Linked DNA regions of Homo sapiens: regions 1, 2, 3 and 5 are each linked to region 4. The links are contacts of gene promoters, found by promoter capture Hi-C in blood cells and fetal thymus (Javierre and others, 2016). All regions are on one chromosome and are shown on one strand. The core of a region is centred on a gene start or on the middle of the fragment in contact, and the rest is flanking DNA. Distances in the headings are between cores, read along the strand shown.

Region 1 (2,700 bases), core at 25-2,524, 590 kb before region 4:
TATAACTAAGAAAATAGGTCATTTTGGCAAAAATTTTTTCTTTGTCTTTAGAATTTGAAACTTTGAGGTTTTGATTTAATTACATATGACACTCCTCTTGTCTAAACCTTTCAATTGCATTTATCAACTACCACTCTTTTTTTTTTTATCAGATCAGACCTATTTTAGATATCTTGCTGTTCTGCAAGATATTTGTTAGAACAGGCCTGCATATGTTTTCTATGAATGGAGACTGAATTTAAAACATTAAAGTATGAGATTGTTTTTCATGTGTGTTCACCGGAATCTGTTTAAGAAACTACAGCATGTTAACTCTCCATCTCATTTTTCAGAAACACACGTGCACAGTGGAAGAAATGCACACACAGCATTGTAGCCAGGCAGCACCCAGACACACACTCTCAACATCACTTATACACACATGCCTAAGGCTGGCTGCTTCTCCCCCAAGTTTCTCAGCCTGCTGCTGAGGAGCAGCAGTGCGTGATAACTTAAGACCCGCCTCTTATTTCTTTGGGCTGGGGCAAGGGGAATCACTATAACTGAAATGGGAATTACTGTACCTCAGATTACCCATTAGCCATTCTCCTTGGAGTATACATTAGTTCAAATGCTTTCTGGCCTGTGATTATACCCAACAGAGTGGTTAAGTCTGTTTGCAGGATTCTAGATGGCAGAGACCAGGCCCAAGGCATTATTAATGCAGTATAAATGGAAGACCAAGGCTTTGCAGTCAGACCAGCTTTTGTTCCAGTCCAAGCTTTGTGACCTTGGGCACATAGCTTCACCTCTCTAAGTCTTAATTTCCTCATCTGTAAAAATGAAGATTATATCCATCTCCCAAGATTAAAAGAGAAAGCACTGAGCATGGTCTCTCATATACAGGAAGTACTCCTTAAATGCTGGTTGCCCTCTTTTCCTCCTAGATAAAAATTTAAGTATTAACACTTGTGTAAACATGGGTGCAAATGTATATTCTGGTAAAAGTGCAAAGATTTCTAAGCCTTAGATGACTTAGAGATGTTATACACACTTTTCTTACTTGCTTTCTCTTTTCCTGGCCATGGGCCTTTTGTTCCTCCCTTCGTCATTCCTCCTGCAGGTACTGAGCCTCCCCCTTTCCGGCCTTGATGATCCTTTGTTCCTCATCCTGGATTCTGTATTTGTGGAGGAGTCACCTGGAACTCAGTCCTGCTGTGGATGGCAGAGGTGGTGATGGGGCTGGGGAGCTATCTGCATAAGTGCAGAGACTTTGTGCTTTTACAAACGGTGGACTAGAGGTACTTGGAGCACAGGGTTCTGTCTTTGAATCCTAGTCCCACTTTTGTGAGTTCTTGTGACCCTGAATAGATTGTCATGTTTAAGTTTTTTTCATTTATATAGTGGGGATAATAATTACTTTTCTACCTGTCTACATGGATTGTTAATGAGTTCCATTAACTTATGTACGTGAAAGAGCTTTGTACCCTGTGAAGAGTGCATAAACATTGGAATTAAAGAGGCAGGACATCCAGATGTGGGCCACCCCAGGCAGGCCCACTCAGCTCTGGCTATTGGGGGTTGGCAGTATCTCCACAAGCATGTTTTGAGTGCTAAGGGGGCACTGCTGCAGTTCTTCCATATTCCTCTCTCCCGTCCTCTGACATCATACTGGACTTCGAGGAGGAAATAGCATCAAAGGTTGAGAAACTGCTCTGTGGGGAATATGAGAGGAAGTTAAATTTCAGGACTGAGGTTACCCAACACTACATGATCGAAGGCATAGGGCAAAGTTCCAAAGAAGCTTTAATTTCGTGTTGGAATTACCTGTACTGTCTGCGCATCTCAGTTCTTAGTGGACAAACACAAACAGCTGGCCACCACCCATCCCACAGGTCAGGAGGAGGGTGCTGATGGCAATGTTGGACAATGTATTGGGTCCACCTATACCATCCTCACTCCCCTGTGCCTTCTTGCTGACTTGGGTCTCTAGTTTACTCTGCAAAGTTCTAAACTGACCAAAGGCATTGCTCCCCCACCCCCAAATTAAGCTAATTACTTAATTCAGTCTGAAAGATATTTGTTGCTCTCTACCTGTCCTGGCAAGCCAGCTGGAGGGTGGGGGAGGGGATTTAGTACCATTGAGGGGAAGGTTCTGACATCCTGGGTTATACCCACCCCTCTCTTCATCACCCCCAGTCTTATGTCCTCCTCTTTATTCCTCTTCCTTGGCTGGCCTCTTGTCCTGTGTATCTACAACCTTGAACTCCTCCCTTGCCCATGACCCCTGATACTGCCCTACTCCCATGATTCTGTCACCCCTCTTCAGATGTGAATCATTTGTACACCTCAGGCTGGGCCAGACTGGGTGTCACTGTGGAAAGCAACCTGCCCAGCACAGCCTGCCCCACCCCTTCCTGAGGATGTTCATCAACCCCTCTAATTACTCATCAGCTAGTCCTGTGTCTACATTGTTCCCTGGGACATTAAGCTGGAGCTTCTACTAGCCCTGGCCTTGACTCACCCATGTGCAGATTGACCAGTTATCAAGGGATGGCTTGGCAGGTGGCAGGGCTGGGTTGGAGGGCACATTAGCCCCTCCATAAGTGCACTATTTGGTCCAAAGGCCTTCCAAGCAAACATGCGGTCTAAATAAAAGCAGTGTATTTGCTTTATAAATGCAGCTTTAAGGCAAGCCCCTGGTCTCCCCTTTTAAGCCAA
Region 2 (2,700 bases), core at 185-2,684, 550 kb before region 4:
TATACATGGTTCTGAGTAACTTATATGTTTTATTTCATTTAGCATTCATGACAACCCTTGAGGGAAGTTCTGTTATTACCAGATGAGGAAACTGAGGCCCGAAAAGGTTCAATGTCTTGCTCAAGGTTAGTAGCAGAGCTGAGATTCCAACCCCAGGAGACTGGCTCCATACTCTACTTTTCAGAGTCAGTTAATAGTCTCTTGGAAGTGAGGGGGCTGGAACGATTGGACCCAAGTCATGAAGTTTATAACTTGTATCTCCCTTGGTTTCTATAAAGTTCATTTCTGTAAAGTCACATGCTCTTTCAACATTTAGCTCGCCCTTGATCCAAATGTTTTGCAGCATGCTAGTGACAGCTATGAAAACATCTCCTGGAAAATGACAGCTCTATACTCTTCAAACTTTATGCTTATTAAAATCATTGGTAAGAATAGGGGCTTTGGAGTCGGCGGGGGGAACTGGATTTAAATCCTAGCTTTGTCAATTCCAAGTTGTGTGACCTTGAGCAATTCATCTCACCTGTCTGTGCCTTAGTTTTTTCATCTGTAAGAAAGGGATAATAGTATCTTTGGCATGGTGAGGTGTTGAGGATTCAATGAGTTAATACACATAAAGCACCTAGCATAATGTTTGGTACATAGTAAGTACTAAGTAAATATTAGCTACTCTTAGACCTTAGTTTGATTCTAAAGAGCCATGCCCTGTATTCAAGCAGAATGCCCTTTTATGTCCAGTTCTATCACCAAGTAACCTGGACACAGGGACTAGAAGCCTACTGTTGGTGCCATCATGATGGCAGATTTTATAAAATGGACAAGTAGCCAAGAGGAAGCTGACCGGGTGTGCTTTGCAGAGGCTGCCTTGACAGATGGCAAATGGTACCAGCTCTGTTACTGGAGACCCAGGACAGTCTGAACACATGGTCACCACAGAACTGAAAAGCTCTGTGCTTACATTGCTAGTCCCTATAAACCACCCTCTCCCCTACGAAATTCTGTTAATGATTCCTGTCTCTGACAGATGATCTTTCCATTAATAATTCATTTCACTTTTGCAACATTTATGAATAAAACATTATAAATGAGACCCTGGCCACAAAGCATTAGCTTGACAAGAGTCCTGTGATACAGCACCAACATCTTGTGTATAGAGCTCTATTATAGGATGGTCCTCATAAGAAACTGTCCCCCTCTTGCTAACAAATCCTTCGAGAGTAGCTAGTTCGTCAGCTGCTATTATCACCTTTGCTAGGATTGGAAAGTTTGCCCTGTGACTGAAAAGAGTTGGGACCAAAACACAGGCCTTTTGGTATTATTCATAAGCTTCATCGATGAACTGTCCTTACTCCATTAAAAAAGAGAGAGAGAGAAAAAAAAAGTACATGTGCCTAAGTTCGTGAGGAATTCTGAAACATTTGTTTTCAGCTTCTGTGGCCTTGTAGTTGCTTCTGCAACACAGAAGCCTGCTTTCAATGTTTACTGCCTGCATGCCTTAGTAATCAAATATCTGTTAAAATAGAAAAAAAGAAAACAGTTAAAGCTTTGCCTTAAGAAATGCTGAGTGAAATGAACAGATTGTTGGCACACAGGGGCTCTCTTGTTGCTGTGCAGAGAGTCATATCAGAAGGAGGGTGATTCTTTTCAGAGTCAAGCCATCCAGGCACCAGTACTCAGTACATTGAGTCCGGGGGTGTTCGTACTTTTGTCTTGAAATGGCTAGTCCCAGGAGCACCTTTGTCACAGATGATTTTCCTGTGTGCTTCATGGCATTGCTACAGAGGCCTATGGGAGGGAGGCATTGTTTTCAGGGCAGGCCGTCAATCGGTGGGTGCAAAAATGCAGTTGCCACTCAGTTGCTGCCCCTACGCTGCTGTTTGACACATCCCTTCCTGTTCTGACGGGGAACGTGGGGACTGAGATGACCTCAGTGTCTGATGCTGGAAGGAAGACAGCTTCAAATTAAAAAAGAAAATCCCTCATATGGCACTCCATCCCACTTGTTCAAATGCCATCTTGACACCTCTTCCAACACCACATTTCCAGGAGTCTGTCTTCTTTCTTCTGTCTCTGCCATATGTAGCCATTTGTTACCTCAAGTCTGGCTCTTGGTTCTTTCTTTTCCCCCCACGCCACTGTTTCAGACACCTCCCTTGGCAGTCAGTTTAGAAGTGCTTTTCCCAAATCAGTGTTCTTGTTTCCAATGTAACCACTGCCCTGCCCTCTTACTTCTTCCATTTCCTCTGGTCCAGACCCCTTCAGTTCCATTACACCAAATGCACTCAGCTTCTTTTATTCCCCTCTCATGCCCCCTTCTTCAGAACTTCTGGCTTTTCTTCTTTTTAGAAAACTGAAACCTTCCTCTTAAGCTGAAACAAACAATTATTGAATATTTTCTGAGTGCAAGGTGGAGAAACATTTCTCAAATTTGACCTCTTTGAAAAGAAGGTATAGGGAGAGGTTCCAGTACCCAACTACATCCAACCCTCCTGCCAACACCCAGCCTCCTGGAAGGTTTCATGTTCCAGAACTCAGGAACACCCTCTCTTAGGGCTTTGATTTCTGCCAAAGGAGAAATGTGGTCATCGTCTGTGACTCAGGCGTCATATCACTGGGCTAATTCAACATCTGGAATAGTATGGTGTGTGCTGGCCAATGGTAGAATTTTATCAAATTCCATGTTAACATTGTACTTCGAAAATT
Region 3 (2,700 bases), core at 76-2,575, 640 kb before region 4:
GGGGTGAGCATACTAGCTCAAGTCTCTCTTCCTCTTCTTAAAAAGCCACTAGAGCCATTCCCTTGATAACCCATAAATCTATGAGTGGATTAATCCATTTATGAGGGCAGAGACCTCATGACCCAATCACCTTTTAAAGGCCCTCCCTCTCAATACTGTCACATTGGGGATTAAATTTCAAATGAGTTTTGGAGGAGACAAGTAACTCAAACCGTAGCAACTACCTATGGGCCCTGCTTCAGAGAGCCTGTCACTTGATGGGGAAGATGGACACTTAATGATAAAATAGTAACCACTGTAAGTGTTTGCTATTATTATTTTCCTGGGGCTGTTTCATGGGCTCTTTGTATATGAACTTGCATAATTTTCACAATAGCCCTATGATGTAGGTATTTTTTAATTCTACCCACTTTTCAGAGGAGGAAACTGAGGCACAGGGGTTAAGCAACTTCCTCAAGGCTCTACAGCTTCTGAGTACAGAGCTGAGATTCAGAGCCAGGCTGTCGGGCTCCAGAGACCATGTTCTTTCCCATTCTACACTGTCTCTGTGCTCCATGCTGTGCTGCCTTTGCAGATGTAATGAAAGGTCAGTGTCTGTTGTGCAGAGGAAAGTAAAGGAGCTCTGGGTGTGTGTAGTAACCAAGAACCATGAAAGTATATAGGAGAGGGCTAATAGAGATGAGAATTTAAGGAATTCTTTTCTGAGATGGGAGATTTTTCATTTGGAACTTGAGGCTGAAAATAAATAAGCTGAGCCATGCATGTGGGAGAAGTGCTGTTCCAGGCAGACAGATCAGCATGTGCAAAGTCCCTGAGGTGAGAGCAGGAAAGAAGGAAGATCAGTGTGGCTGTAGGGTGAAGAAGGTGGGGGTCAGGCAGAAGAGAGCTGGGCTGGGATTGGAGACACTACCGTGAAGTCTGAGAGAAACTAAGGTTAGATTCATCTCCTTCCCATACATTCTTCTTGCTGCTGTGTGCTCCAAACCAAAAATCTGATTACCACTCCCCTCCTTGCTTCTGTTCCAAGAAGTAATTTTCTCTACATACAGAGAAGGCTTATAAGATTGGCACTATGTCCTGGGAAAGTGCACAGTGAGGTTGAGAAGCAGAAGTGGGGATTCTGAGTGGTGGTGTTTTAATTTGTTTGTTCTCTTATTAATGGTGAACTTGATGTCTCTGCTTTTATGTGAAAGAACTCAGAGTAGGTCAGCAGTTTTGCCTTTTTTTGAATGGAGCCCAAATGGATCACTTTCTGTTGAATTCTATTCTACAGTAAATATTTATATATAAATTTGAGTGAATTTATTAGCAGCTCACATAGTTTTTGCTTTTGTTTTTGTTTTTTGTTTTTTGTTTTGAGACAGAATCTCGCTCTGTTGCCCAGGCTGGAGCGCAGTGGCACGATCTCGGCTCACTGCAAACTCTGCCTCCCGGCTTCATGCCATTCTTCTGCCTCAGCCTCCCAAGTAGCTGGGACTACAGGCGCCTGCCACCACACCTGGCTAATTTTTTTGTATTTTTAGTACAGACGGGGTTTCACCGTGTTAGCCAGGATGGTCTTGATCTCCTGACCTCGTGATCCGCCCACCTCAGCCTCCCAAAGTGCTGGGATTACAGGCGTGAGCCACCGTGCCTGGCCCAGCTCACATGTTTTTAAATGTATAGCTTTATATCAGGGAATGTTTTGCCTTACATATGTACTTCTGAATGAATGCGGTGTGATTTGTTTCTGATATTTACCATTTTGTTTTAACAATAGACAAAACATTTATTGTTTGAACTTCTTTTCACACTGCCATTTTGTTTGGAAATTATTCTCCGGTAAGGTGTGTTTAACATTTGAATTCTGTTTTATTCCTCAGCTCAGAAAAATGCTCAGTATGTCCTGGTGTTTGATGCATTTGTCATTGTGATTTGCTTGGCATCTCTTATTCTGTGTACAAGATCCATTGTTCTTGCTCTAAGGTTACGGAAGGTAAGAGTGTGTTCGCATTCTCTTCCTGCCCTCTTGGCCTGCGCCCTCAGTTTGCCCAAGCAGTGGACCACCGATATTGTGCACCTGCCTTTTTTGGAGACCTTTGACTAAATCAGATTCCTTTGAGTAGTTGCCCGCTATGAGGCATTCATCAGCCTGAGGTGTAGGAAGTGAGTAAAGGCTCTGAGTATGTCAAGTGGGATCAGATAATTATCCTGCTTAAAACTGAGCTGATATGTACAGATGCACAGTGGTGAACTCTCAGGCTTTTGAATGTTTCCAGAATAACAAATCCCTCTTCAATTCAGGAGTGATCTGAAGAACAGAGTAATAGCATGTGTGGGTTTCATCTTTTGTCTTCAAATCAGAGTTCATTTTGACAGGGAGGCATGGTAAATGGATTATAATGAAGCATAAAATACTTTATTCTGTTTTTAAAATAGTTTTAAAATTCTCCCCTGAGTTTCATTTTGCCTTTTTACCCTCAGGGCTCTTATGAATATATACTTCCGCTCCCCACATATCTTATTCTGGCTGTGGCGTGTGTACAAATGCACACTGGGGTCAGGGGAAATTGGAAGTCCACAGAGTACCATTTGTGGAGCAGGGACGTAGTCTGCATTTGATTTTGCCTAATCCTGACCTTTGTCAATGTCCTTTGTAAATATCCACCTTTCTTACATGCTCCCCAATCCCCTTGATATTCTGAATGCAAAGTTAAGGTC
Region 4 (2,700 bases), core at 126-2,625:
TTAAATCTCCAGTTCCCTCGGCGATTGGAGAGATGTGATTAAACCTAAAGAACTGGAGGAGACGGATTGGGGTGCTTTCATCTGTACTGGCACTCCCTGCCTTGACAATAAGCATTTGCAAATGAAATTGAATCCTCGTTGAAAACAAGTGCTGTGTGAACTGGCACAGCTTCTTCTGGGTGCCTAGCTCTCACTTAAGACACTGCAACTCATAAATGAGTCAAAGTAGAGAAAAACAATCCCCCTTTTCCTGCCCCCCTCCCATTATGGGCTTTGATTTGTTTTTTCTTATTGTGTTTGGTTTTTTTTTTGTCCACTCCCCCTTGCTCCTAGATTTTTTCATTGCAATGCAGAAGGACACTTAAAGCTTTTGTCAGCAAGTATTCCCCTACCTCACATTCTCAACGAAAGCCTCAAAAACCCGTCTGTGAGATGGCCATGCTGTGGTAAAGCAGGAAGCTCACAAAAAATGCCAGATAGCCCTTAGCACAGAAAGGTGGTGCTGGTGTGTGTGTGTGTGTGTGTGTGTGTGTGTGTGTGTATGTGTAAGAAAGAGTAGGTAACTCATTAGATTTATGAAAAATCATCAAAACATTTAAGGAGATATTGTAGCATCCATCACTCTGTCTTTTTGTTTAGTAGGATGAGGGCTGTGGAAAATTAAAAGCCTTCCACAATTAATATGCAATTAGCAAAATGAAAAAGCTACGAACAAAACTGCTTTAAGAAAAAAAAAAAAAAAAAAGGAAGAAACAGTCCCGAAACGTGTTTGCTCTTATTCAGCTGAAGCCATAAATTAAATACATTTCCACTCAAATCACTTTATACTTCGGCACTCCTTCTCTAGGGATTACTCTGACATGGCAAGTGCATCATTTAGTATATTCGCAAGATTTTATCACTGTTAGAGAAGTAGATGATTAACAAATAACACTGTAAGTGTGGGATAATTTTCACTCCTGAAACACACACATACACACAAACTTCCAGCTGCAAACCACTTAGATCATTGATAGAGAAATCCAACATTTAATATATATATATAGATATTAGCATACATTCACACACCGTTAGAGAGTAGACAGGAAGATAGTGCTGCTGCTCCATGCTAACAGAATATGATTTCACTTCAGTTGGAAACTGTTACACATTCACCATTTTCTAAGCATCTCAGAAAACAAAACAAAACACTCACAATGATACTCTGCAACACCACACTACATTGTCTTATTATTATTACTATTATTTTCTTTTCTGTGGAAGAGTAAAAAGAAAACCTACCTATAAGCAACTAAAAAATATCATTTTTTATAGGCTTATCAAGAACAGCCAAAGAAACCCCAATGTTTTCTTTCACAAAGTAGGCTGGCAAAGGAATTCAATAAGGAGGTACAATTTGACACAGTGAAATAAAACCAGGCTGGCTCTCAGCCAACATGACGTTAGGAATCACACACAAGCTGCACCAACTGCCTTCTGGTTCATGGCTGACTTTTTAAAGCTACAGTGTGCCTGTTCACTTTTGCTAACTACCTTCAGCACAATTAGTGCAAGAAATGAGTAAGGAGTCCAAAACCTGCAGAATTCTCCCTGCACCTGTCTTGTACAAAGAAAAACAAGCTGTCTCAATAGCTTCTTATTTTCTCCCTCCCCTTCATTGTTGCTGCATGATAGGTCTTAGCTGTTGTTCTGAGCATGAATGTCATGTTTCAAACTATTTCCTTTTCTCCCCAGAGGGAAAAATAAGAGTGAGAAGCCAGTGCTTATGGGCTATAACCAGAGAACACTCGGAAGCTGCAGTCCCATGTTACTCTTTTTTTCCTAATAGAGATTCATGGACAAAGTTCCCAGGGCTGGCTTTTAAGTAATCTCTTTGTGAGAATAAGGAAAGCACTGCCCAGCAGCAAATCCTTTTACTTCATTATGCAGGAAGTAACATATTTCGGAAAGGATGCAAAATAGATGACCAGATCTCCTGAAAACGCCCACATTCTTTTATTTTGGCATTTATCCTGCCAAATGAAGCCAGCAAAAATTCAAACTGAAACAAACAAAACCTTATTCTACAAAACGAAAACAATTAGTTCTGGGAGGTTTAATTTTAACTGTTTATCCCAGTTGGACAAAAAGCATAATTCAAGAAATTTAACCAACACTTACAATCTATGAGTACCCGGTACTATATTAGTTACATATGAATAGAAAGACATTATGCCCACCCCAAAATTCATAGTCTCTCCCGCCATCATCCTAAATACCAAATCAGAAAACTGGGAGGTGGAGCAGAGAGGCTGGGCAAGATCTTTTGTTTAAGTTACCCTGGTCATTCTCACAGTTCCCTTGCTTGGCTTAAACCACTTTTCCAGGAGAATAATCTCATCCCATTAATGTTCTGCACATACACAGAAAACATACATGGTTGCCTCTTCATTGAAATAAACATCAATCAACATTTGGACACTTTTAGGTCAAGATGGTCAACAAAACCACTCAAGACAGGGCACAGAACACAGGTTCCCCAGAAAGATCCTGGAAAAAGTTATCACTTGCTGTAATATCCTGTAGAATTCAGGTAGAATCTGAGGAAAAAGCTGCCTGCTTCCCTTTTTAAAAATAATCTTTTAGGACATTAGGAGATTACCTTTGATCTAAATTTGGAACCTGAATTTCAAGGTCAAAAAATTTGTTCTTTACTTATTC
Region 5 (2,700 bases), core at 109-2,608, 620 kb before region 4:
TCCCAATTTCTTAAAAGCAGTGAAGGATATACAGGGGCTAAGATATAGAAGTTATTCAATAAATATTTATGATGATAGCTTGAGAGATGAAGATCACTTCATGCATAGACTTATTTCATACCTGAGCTATCTCAGTGGCCAACTATTTAAAGTTATTGGTGAAGAGGAGAATTTGAATTAAGCAGGACCCTCCTTCCAGGGCTCTTCCTCTTTCTCCTTGGCCTCAGTCGCCCTCCCCACAAGCCCCTACCCAATTTTCCTTCTCATGTCACCTTCCCCCTCCTTGCTCTGACCCCATCTTCATATGCCTGCACCAACTATAGGCAGGGAAAATCATGCAGTTAATACCATTAAAGTATATAAGAGAGTAGATGACTCATGTCTACACACAGAGTACTTTGCTAAAATTATTTTAAACTTTCTTTTTTACAAGATATGTGAAGAGTTATGTTTGATTTTTAAACTAAGACACCATTAAACTGGTGGTTCTGGGGTCATTTGCCTGACCCAAGAATCAGATACGTAATTGGACCACTTGTTAACTTCTGAGTATATTGTCATATACTTAGTTTTGTCTCTGAAAAGAACTGCTATTTTTTTTCTTTCTCTCTTTTTTTTTTTTTTTAAACAGAGTCTTGCCCTGTTGCCAGGCTAGAGTGCAGTGTCATGATCTTGGCTCACTGCATCCTTTGCCCCCCAGGTTCAAGCGAGTCCCCTGCCTCAGCCTCCTGAGTAGCTGGGACTACAGACATGCACCGCCACACCTGGCTAATTTTTTGTATTTTTTTAGTAGAGATAGGGTTTCACCATATTGGCCAGGATGGTCTTGATCTCCTGACCTCGTGTACGCCCGCCTTGGCCTGCCAAAGTGTTGGGATTATAGGCGTGAGCCACCACGCCCAACCCAAGAATTGCTATTAACATGGTGAAACCCTGTATCTACTAAAAATACAAAAATTAGCTGGGTGTGGTGGCAGGCGCCTGTAGTCCCAGATACTCAGGAGGCTGAGGCAGGAGAATCGCTTGAATCCGGGAGGCGGAGGTTGCAGCGAGCCAAGATCCGGCCACTGCACTCTAGTCTGGGTGACAAAGTGAGACTCCATCTCAAAAAAAAAAAAAAAAAAAAGCTTTCATTTGTTCTGCAGCTGTGACTGCCATTTGAATAGAAGATTAATGATGGGTTTTCATGCTCATATTATTCTTCTATTGGCTTTCATGTTTTCTTTTATTTATTTTCCCTCCAGCTGGACAAAACAGTTTTAGAAAGAAAAATGTTTTTCAGGGTTAGCTCACATCTATAGAAACATTGTTTTCTCCCTTTTTAATAATGTTAAACAATTGTCACTTTATCAACTGTATTGTTATTTGGATTTTATTGAACAATGTTGTCTCATAATTCTGCTAATAGATGCATCTGGGATAAATCATTTTCTCTCTTATCATAGGCCTCCACTTAGAGGGTTCCCTGTGAAAGTTAGGAGACACATTCTTTCTGCCTGCTGGTTTCATTCTGGGATCTCCAACCCTTGAATTTAACTCCTTGGCTTGTGGTGACACAGTCAAAACCATATACAACATCTTAAAGCTTTTTCACTTGAGCTGGTAGGAGAGAGTGTGGGCATAAGAGCCATCTAGACAGACTTGAGTTAAAATTCCAGCTTAACCTAACTTTAAGGCCCTGAACAAGTTACTTTCTTCCTCTAAGTGATGATAAACCTCAACCAAGACTGGCACTTAAGTCACATAATTTATGCAGAGCCTGGTATTGAATTCATTCCTGAGCTGTTATTTCCCTTTGATTCTCTAACATGTTTGCAATAGTTTCCATGGGACCATGGAATAATGCAGACACGACTTTGCTTCTGCAACCTGTCTGCCTCAGCTGTCCTCTTCCTACTGCTACCTGAGTCTCCTTGGACAGGTCATGCCATGCATAGATTTCCTCATCCATAAAATGGGATTATGAGGATTGAATGAGTCAAACGTAAAGTGCATAGAATAGGGCGTGACTCCTAAGTGCTCAATGACTATTAGCTCTTCAAAAAACATGTCTTACTAACATGGTCTACAAATGTACAAATCTGTTCATCTGGGCCAGCCAGGAAGATTTTTATTTTATAATGCACTCACCACACACTTCTGGTGGACTTTGTTCTAGTTAGAACTTTAAGTGTGCAAAAGTCCCCCATCCAGTCCTGTCCTGGAGGCAATGATCAGTTCAGCCCTAAGAAGCTCACACCTAGCCATAGAGGAGCAGCAAGGAGAAGCAGCCTAAATGGCTGGGGCACAGCTGTCAGTCCTGATGGAAGAGAAAAGGTCCAGGAGGTGCACAAGCTGTCACAAAGCCTCAGTCCTTCACCCTGGGTGAGACCCTCAGTCCTCTACTAGGACTACCCCCTTAACCAAACTTGTCAGAATGTATAAAATTCAGGCCCACTTCCTTCTCAACCCATTGCTGACTCAAAGTGGTGAATGCAAAAGAGTGAGAGAGGGTAGTTAGGAAAAGCTCTTCGTGCGATTCGAGGCACTGTCCCCCACTCCTGCTGAGGACCTACACTCCAACAATTGTAAAAAGGGTACACTGATCCAGTGGAAGACCACGCTTGGAATCATGGGTTTATGAAAAGCACAATAGCCCAGCCTTTTGATCTAGGGGTAGCCAGTCGCCCTCTTGTCCCTGTGGACCTTCATGTAAAAATG

Evidence for each region. The method cuts DNA at HindIII sites, captures the fragments that hold promoters and counts their contacts. A CHiCAGO score of 5 or more calls a contact.
Region 1: a fragment that was not itself captured here is called in contact with the fragment with the promoter of SAMD13 in region 4 in 2 of 17 cell types (M2 macrophages and M0 macrophages); the score reaches 7.6 in M2 macrophages.
Region 2: a fragment that was not itself captured here is called in contact with the fragment with the promoter of SAMD13 in region 4 in 1 of 17 cell types (M1 macrophages); the score reaches 5.1 in M1 macrophages.
Region 3: a fragment that was not itself captured here is called in contact with the fragment with the promoter of SAMD13 in region 4 in 2 of 17 cell types (monocytes and fetal thymus); the score reaches 6.3 in monocytes.
Region 5: a contact is called between a fragment that was not itself captured here and the fragment with the promoter of SAMD13 in region 4, in 1 of 17 cell types (M2 macrophages). The highest score is 5.7, in M2 macrophages.

What each region holds. Positions count from the first base shown.
Region 1 is chr1:84,888,608-84,891,307 of GRCh38, reverse strand. All of the region lies in intron 1 of LPAR3 (lysophosphatidic acid receptor 3), which reads left to right. Among named protein-coding and RNA genes, the nearest start is that of LPAR3, 3.2 kb to the left of the region's middle. The HindIII fragment of the contact is 1,023 bases long and covers 763-1,785 here.
Region 2 is chr1:84,855,225-84,857,924 of GRCh38, reverse strand. The region is part of intron 2 of LPAR3 (lysophosphatidic acid receptor 3); the gene reads left to right. Among named protein-coding and RNA genes, the nearest start is that of LPAR3, 37 kb to the left of the region's middle. The HindIII fragment of the contact is 217 bases long and covers 1,326-1,542 here.
Region 3 is chr1:84,940,154-84,942,853 of GRCh38, reverse strand. MCOLN2 (mucolipin TRP cation channel 2) reads left to right here. Exons shown (of 14, transcript NM_153259.4): 8 at 1,863-1,975. Among named protein-coding and RNA genes, the nearest start is that of LPAR3, 48 kb to the right of the region's middle. The HindIII fragment of the contact is 4,398 bases long and covers 1-2,700 here.
Region 4 is chr1:84,300,383-84,303,082 of GRCh38, reverse strand. It overlaps SAMD13 (sterile alpha motif domain containing 13), which reads right to left and starts at 1,375. Exons shown (of 4, transcript NM_001134663.2): 1 at 1,282-1,375. The HindIII fragment of the contact is 6,789 bases long and covers 370-2,700 here.
Region 5 is chr1:84,922,785-84,925,484 of GRCh38, reverse strand. No RefSeq gene overlaps it. Among named protein-coding and RNA genes, the nearest start is that of LPAR3, 31 kb to the right of the region's middle. The HindIII fragment of the contact is 458 bases long and covers 1,130-1,587 here.